Linked DNA regions of Homo sapiens: region 2 is linked to region 1. Evidence: promoter capture Hi-C in human tissues and cell types (Jung and others, 2019). All regions are on one chromosome and are shown on one strand. The core of a region is centred on a gene start or on the middle of the fragment in contact, and the rest is flanking DNA. Distances in the headings are between cores, read along the strand shown.

Evidence for each region. Contacts are between HindIII fragments. The study calls those that stand out against the background at their distance.
Region 2: a contact is called between a fragment that was not itself captured here and the fragment with the promoter of TMEM97 in region 1, in 1 of the 25 tissues and cell types used here (IMR-90 fibroblasts).

The regions. Positions count from the first base shown.
Region 1 is chr17:28,317,225-28,320,963 of GRCh38, reverse strand. It overlaps TMEM97 (transmembrane protein 97), which reads right to left and starts at 1,764. Exons shown (of 3, transcript NM_014573.3): 1 at 1,599-1,764. The coding sequence starts at 1,724. RefSeq lists enhancers at 1,641-1,700, 2,181-2,440, 2,660-3,485. The HindIII fragment of the contact is 5,118 bases long and covers 1-2,042 here.
Region 2 is chr17:28,050,947-28,054,588 of GRCh38, reverse strand. All of the region lies in intron 1 of NLK (nemo like kinase), which reads right to left. Among named protein-coding and RNA genes, the nearest start is that of NLK, 10 kb to the right of the region's middle. The HindIII fragment of the contact is 6,343 bases long and covers 1-3,642 here.

The DNA.
Region 1 (3,739 bases), core at 515-3,014:
GGATTTTGAAATGGGAGATTTTCTGGGTTATCTGGTGGGCCCTGAATGTATGACAAGTGTCTTTATAAAAGCGAAGCAGAGGGAACTCTGACTACAGAAAGGGAGGCAATGTGATGACCCGAAGCAGAGATTGAAGTGACGTGAACACAAGCCAAGGAACATTGGCAGCCACCAGAAAATGGAAGAGGCAAGAACCAGATTCTCCCCTGGAGCCCTCAGAAGGAGTGAGCCCTGCCTTGATTTGAGCACTGTAAGATTTCATTGTGAACTTCTGGCCTCCAGAACTGTAAACAAATAAATCTGTTAAATCACTACATTTGTGGTAACTACAACAGCAATATGAAAACTAACCCACCCTGTATATGTTTGAGCTTATAATTTAACTCAACTCTCTCAACAGTTGAGGAGGATATAGAGCCCTGACCTGCCCAAGTCACCTCCAGTTCTTGGAAGAACCAAGTCCCCAGACTGCAACTTGCTACACGCTACCTACGCTTTTCCCATGCAAAAGGAGGTCAGAGGTCTTCCAGTTGTGTTTGGTTCTAGAAGCAAACAAAAAAGAGTGACTTATGGGAGTGGTAGAACATTCTTGAGCCGTGGCCTTTTTGGGAGAGTTAGGCCCCTTGAAAAGTCGATGGAAGCTATATTCTCCTTGCAGGAAACAAAAGGCACACACACTTGCACCCATTTTTGGGAGTTCATGACCCTCAGGTAAAGAACCCCTCCTCGGCAGATAAAAAGCATTTAAGGAAAAACAGACGCAAAATAAAATCTTCGGGTAGACAAGTCAGTCCTGCCTACAGTTATAGATAAGATGGAGAAACAAAACTGAGGACAGGAATTCCATGGAAGAAGGTCACAGGGTCCAGATACGAGAAAAAAACCTCAACGAACCGGGAAACTAAAACTATAGCTTTGAAGAAAAAAACAAAGCATTAAAGCAGAGTTTGGGGTTGAAAGAATGCTCTCCAACAACCAGGAAATCGGGATTTTCACCTTTATTTTTACTCAGGAGATCATTGTTACTCGAACCCAATATTGAAGAGCCAATCTGAAAAGATGGCAATTTACTCCTGAGCTCTGGAAGTTGCTGGAACCTGATCTCGAAGCAGTGACGATCTGTGAACGCCCCAGCTGCACCAACCAAGGTGCTAAACCTTCAGACAGGTCTATTTCTACTCGGATTTTTTCTTTGGGATCAGACTGGTATTTTAAAGCCCTTCCAAACAAACAAACAAAAAACCAGAAGCTTAAAGCAAACCTAACATGTGACTTTGGACACCACTTCATCCAGACTACTTCCCTCAGACACTGACAACCGGCCAGAGGTGGAATCGCGGGAAACCTTAAACCCAGGGAAGAAGTGACTTTAAAGGAAACAAAGCGTTCGCCCCCGCCGCTTGGGAGAAGGGGCTGGGATAGAGACAAAGCCCGAGGAAAACACCGAACTAAAGTTGGGTTAGGAGCGGGGGAGGCATGGGCAGGACCCGAGAGAGGCAACTGGAACCCAGAGTGCGCGAGCGCGGAGGAGGTGAAGGCCCTGTGGACGCAGCGCCGGGAGAGCCTCAGCGGGCCGGGATAAGAGGGGCGCCCCTCACCTCGACTGGGTAGAGCTCGCGCGGCAGCACCGCCTGCAGGTCCATGAACAGGGTGATGGGGATGTGGCTGAGGAAGTAGAGGCCCAGCAGCCACTCCACGCAGCGCCTGGTTGCCGGAGCCCCCATAGTCTGTCGGTTGGGCCTGGACCCGCTGATGTGAGAAGAGGGGCCAAATCCGCGCGCCTTCCCAGACCCACGCGCCTCGGTCGCCGCCTTGCCCCCGCGAGGGCTAGGCAGACCGCTTCCATTGGCTGGCGAGAAGAGGAGGCTCGTGGACAGGGGGCGGCACTCCCCACAGGGCGCACCCATTGGTCCGTATAAGTATAGCGCGTGGAGAAGGCGTCTCGTAAGCCATTTCCATTGGCCGCCAGGAGCGCCGTGTGGGCGGGGCTTAGTCACGCCGTTCGGCGCGCGGCTACTCAGTGTAGATTGCGGTTGTGAGCGCGAGCCTAGCGTTTCGGTGCTGGCCGCGTGGTATCCTGGTGTCCCGGCAGCTGCCGGCGGCGCTCCCTTCCCTCGTGGCTCCGTTCGCCACTACAACAGCAGTATGAAAACTGCACTGGCCCTTGGGCCTTCTGCAGTAAGTCAGCATTAAAAAAATAAAGCTGACGCTGTGCACGGTGGGTCATGCCTGTAATGTCTGCACTTTGGGAGCCCGAGGCAGGAGGATGGCTTGAGCCCAGAAGACCAGCCTGGGTAACTTAGTAAGACATTATCTCTACAAAAAATAAAAAATTAGCCAGGTGTGGTGGTGTGCACCTGTAGTCCTAGCTAGTTCGTGTACTAGTGACCAGCGCCTGTGCTGGGCCGCGGTACCCCGGTGCAGTGCGGCCGTCACGGAGCAGGGGTCGCAGAGCGGGGCACGAGCGCCGCGGTGCAGGTTCCCGGCCCAGCCGGGGTTGCGGGTCTGGGGAGGCAGCTGGCCGCGGTGAACAAAGAAGCAGAGGGGAGGACTCGAGGGACGTAGGAGGCAGTAAAATGGACAGGAATCCTCACCGGCTGTGGAGCATGAGGGAAGGTCAAGGATTCGTTTACACGTTCAGCAAATACTGATGTTCATCTCCACGCTGGGCGCAGGCCTGTCTCGGGGCAGGATCGCCGAGGCTGCCATTTGCTAAGAGGGGACACAGGGCAAGGGAGTGCGAGGAAGGAATGCAGCTTGGACTACGTGGACCTTGAGTGGGCTGCAGCGTTGGGTGGAGGAGGCAGTTGGGTGAGCCTGTCTGGAGTCGTAAGCTTGTGAGGCATCCGCCTTTGATGGCGAGCAGAGGGCCTGGGAGAGATCCTGGGGGAGCTCCAGCCTCAGGTCATGGGAGGAGGGGACTGAGATAGGAGCGTACTAGCAGGGGGCTATGTCACAGGGAGGGGCAGCCTGTCAACACTGAGTGATGCCCGCCTGTGGCCCTGTGGGGAACAGTTGTGTCGTGGGGGCAGGAGCCAGGGAGTAAGAAAGTGGGGAAATGGAGGCAGGAAGTGTAGACAGCTGGTCACGAAGGGGAGAAGACATGGGGCAGTAGCTGGAGAGAGATGCACTCGAGAGTTTATTTTGCAGGTGAGAAAGACTTGAGCTAGTTTAGTTTTGACAGTGGGAGAGGTTACCCCTACTCGAGAAGAGCAGGAAATGCGGCTCAAAGCCCTGGAGGAGGCGGAGGGAATGGAAGGATTGGGGTGGGTTAGGTGGGTGCACTGCGCTCCGCCCAGCTTCCCCTTCCCTTGGGGCGCTGTGGGCTAGGACAGAGGGATTATGGCAGTGTTGAAGGCCCAGCTGAGGTGGGGGGCCGCTGACCCGGAGGCCCCAATCTCTTAGGCTGTGTGCTTTGCATTTCTCTAGTGCGGGGTCTACCCAGAAGAAGGCTGTTGGACCCCTACAGAGTTTGGGTTCAGAAAAGCGAAAGGTGGCTTTGAAGAGCTGAAGAAGAGTGATTGAGGTGCAGAAGGTTGCAGTTCAAGCTAGGTAGGGGGAGAGGGAGAGGTGAGGCCAAAGGGGGCTGTAAGACAGGGAGACAGTGGAGGCCTGCTGAGGAACACGTGCCAGCGTGATGGGAGTCACTGGGCCGGAAGGGTGGGAGCTTATGAGGAGGGCGTGCAATACCTGAATTCCTGGGGTCAGGAAGAGGTTCTGCCCGTGGGAGTGTGCGGCT
Region 2 (3,642 bases), core at 1,105-3,604, 270 kb after region 1:
CCTGTATATATCACTAAGTGAATATTATAACATCTGAGAAATTAAGTAACATTAATTATTAAGTTTAATATTGAAAGTCTTAATAAAGAAAGGTGCTTTGTTGGTCGACATTATTTGTCCTCATAAATCTTCTGCAAAGAATCCCTATAACCAACTGTTGCACCTTTCAAAAATTTCAATTTTATTAAAATGTTTTAAACAGTGTTATAATTAATTAGCTTGTGTTTTTAAAAGAATGCCTGTCAATATTTACTTTGAACGCTGGCTATGGTATACACCCAGTTAACTTCAGGATAACCCCAATTACTGTAACCTGCAGAACCTGGGAAAATGAACACAGAGGAAGCCAATCAATTAAACATGGTTGAAGATGCTCACATAATTCTCTGAGGCAATTCAAACCCAAACCAAGCCCCTTCTTCTGCACAATAACCACATTACTTGCCAATTTTTATAGCTTCTGGATTACTTTTAATAAAGCTCAAATTTCCTCCGCATCTGTATTACTAAATTTCCAGCTCTATTGAAGTAAATATAGAAATCAAGTTTCCTATTTTAAAAAATTAGAAAAGAGAGGGAAGTGGAGAAGAAAGTGGGGAAAAACCCTCTGCACCAGGCTGCATGTTAATTTAGATGTGCAATGAGACAATCACCTGATAATTGTACCCTTTGGGTACTTTTGTACTGGTAAGATAATACAGTGAAATAAAGTCACCTGGCTTATTTCAATTAACTTACACAATTTGCAAATCTGCAACTCTCTGCCATGGTACATTAAGAAAATTAGCATGTAAGAAAAATCACCTGCTTATGTAAATTGACGGATCATTTTTATCCATGCAGACAGGAAGAAAAGCTGCAATCTGGGTCAAATGACTAATTTTATCTATTTGTTCAAATGTCTCTTTTCACCTTTTTTCTGTAGCTCAGAGCAAGAATTTTAGGTCAAAGAATGGATAAACAAAAAGTTTCTGTGTTGTCCATTCCCCTGTAAGAAGTCTGCTGCCTGACACTACTGAGCTCTATACTACTTAAATTGAAAACAAGACTGAGAACCTTATCCAGATAACAAAACCACAATACGGAGAGGATAAAAAGAGAAATCAATAGGAGATATCTGCTCTAACTGGGAAGGAAAGCAAACATGGCAACGATCAGGTACCAAATTTACCTTCTGCTACTTTAGGCAAACAAAGCTTCAGAAAAGAAAAGGAAAAATGCCTCCAAATAACTCAGGACAGACAGGACTTCTCTATAGAGATCATTATTCCAGTTTGTTCCATAAATATACCCACTCAAGTTCTTCTGAGTCTGACACAAGTCAGACAAATGCAGTATCTTGGTCATTAATGACTGCATTCCTGGCATTTACTGCTGGTATTCATCCCTCCCATTTAAAACTGACTCCATCTCCAGGTCCAGAAGTGGATCTGATTGCTCCAAAAGTAATCTTACCTTCATTGACAGTGACTGGTTCAGAAATGAGTATGTAATCCAACAAAAGCCAAAGAGAGGCCAGGTGCGGTGGCTCAGGCCTGTAATCCCAGCACTTTGGGAGGTCAAGGTGGGCAAACTGCTTGAGCCCAGGAGTTTGAGACTAGCCTGGGCAACAAAGTGAGACCCCATCTCCACAAAAAAATAAAAAAAATAGCCAGGTGTGGTGACAGAGCAAGACTGTCTCAAAAAAAAAAAAAAAAAAACACCAGAGATCAATATGCTGGTGCTGGTCAGTAGCCATGTGTGGCTACAGAACACTTAAAATGTGGTTAGACCAAACTGAGACATATTCTAAGCATGAAGATACATAGTGATTTTGCAGACTCAGTATGAAAAAAAAGTAATATAGATCATTAATAATTTTTATAGTGAATACATGTTGAAATGACAATATTTTGGATATAGAGTTAAAATACATTACTAAAATTAATGTCACCTGTTTCTTTTCAGTTTTTTACTGTGGCTACTAGAAAATTTAAGATTGCATACTTTCACTATGTATTTACTGGATAGCACTGCTGGTTTGCTGAGGGTGTCTGCAAAAATGCTCCCTTCCTCTTGGACAAGAGCTTTAGGAAGTCACTCTCCCTCTTTGGGCACTGTAAGCCCTAAACTACTACAGCCTGAAAGCTGTGTCAAAGCTCATTTTCTGGGAGGCCCACATGCAAACTAGTAACTCTCTTATCCAAATTCAGAATTTAAAAGAGACTCCTGGAAAGAAATTTGTTTTAAAGAAACTTGCAAATTAATGTAAGCACTGGCTCCCAAATCATCTTACCTGATTACTCACACACAAAAGATGACAAAATACTGAACATTAAATTTTATTTAAAAATTTAAAAATCACTCAAAATATTGTAAGAAAACTATTGTAAGACTTATAAGAAACTAAGCAAGTTTTTAAAGTCTAAAACACTAAAAAGGTAAATATTATCAGGAAAATAGTAGTATCAAATGGACATGTAGAAGAAATTGCTCATTTGCAAACAGGCCTGCTCTTCTCCACAGCTGAACTACATGTATAATCCTTACCAATAACTCAGTAATAGAAGAAAACAAGTCTCTTGATGAAAAAAAAATGAACATTTAAAATCTAATCCCAAATTAGAAAACTCTATAAAAGTCACCACTCTGGAACAGGGTGACATTTATCTCATTCCTCCTTTAAACAATTTTAGAAGCTATTCAACACTGTAGTCCTGAAGAGAGAAAGTTGTCTTGTGGTCACCAGCAAACTCCAACAAATATTAATATCATTTTATAATAGAATCTTAGGAAACACAGGATTTTATAAATGAGAAAACCAAGGCTCAGAAAGTTTAAATAACTTTACCAAGGTCACAGGGTTGTTGGCAGCAAGGCTAGGACCAGAACCTTGTCTCCTAACAAGTTTAGTTTAGTAATCTATTACCCCATTGTTTAAAAAAAAAAAAAAAGCCGGGCGCAGTGGCTCACAACTGTAATCCCAGCACTTTGGGAGGCCGAGGCAGGCCGATCACGAGGTCAAGAGATCGAGACCATCCTGGCCAACATGGTGAAACCCCGTCTCTACTAAAAATACAAAAATTAGGCGGGTGTGGTGCCACGTGCCTGTAATCCCAGCTACTCGGGAGGCTGAGGCAGGAGAATCCCTTGAACCTGGGAGGTGGAGGCTGCATGAGCCAAGATCATGCCACTGCACTCCAGCCTGGTGACAGCGGAAGACTCTGTCTCAAAAAAAAAAAAAAATCCTTCCCAAGGAAATGGCACCTTGAACATCAAGTTCTCTGGTTTATTAAACTAAAAACAAACAAACAAACAAACAAACAAACAAATGAGATTTGGAAGAATTGTATTAATAATTTTAAAAAATTGTAAAAAGTAATACTGAATACTTAAGACATTCTTTAGAATCAATCAAACACAATCACTCTCTCAAATGCCATCAATGATCTATTTACTATCAGGCTAAATACAATGGCCTTTTGGCCTTTTCTCCATCTTAATTTTCTGACTTTTTTTTTTTTTTTTTTGAGACAGGTTCTGACTCTGTCGCCCGGGCTGGAGTGCAGTGGTGTGATATCAGCTCACTGCAACCTCAGACTCCTGAGTAGCTGGGACTACAGGTGCGTGCCACCACACCAGGCTAATTTTTTTTTTCTGTAC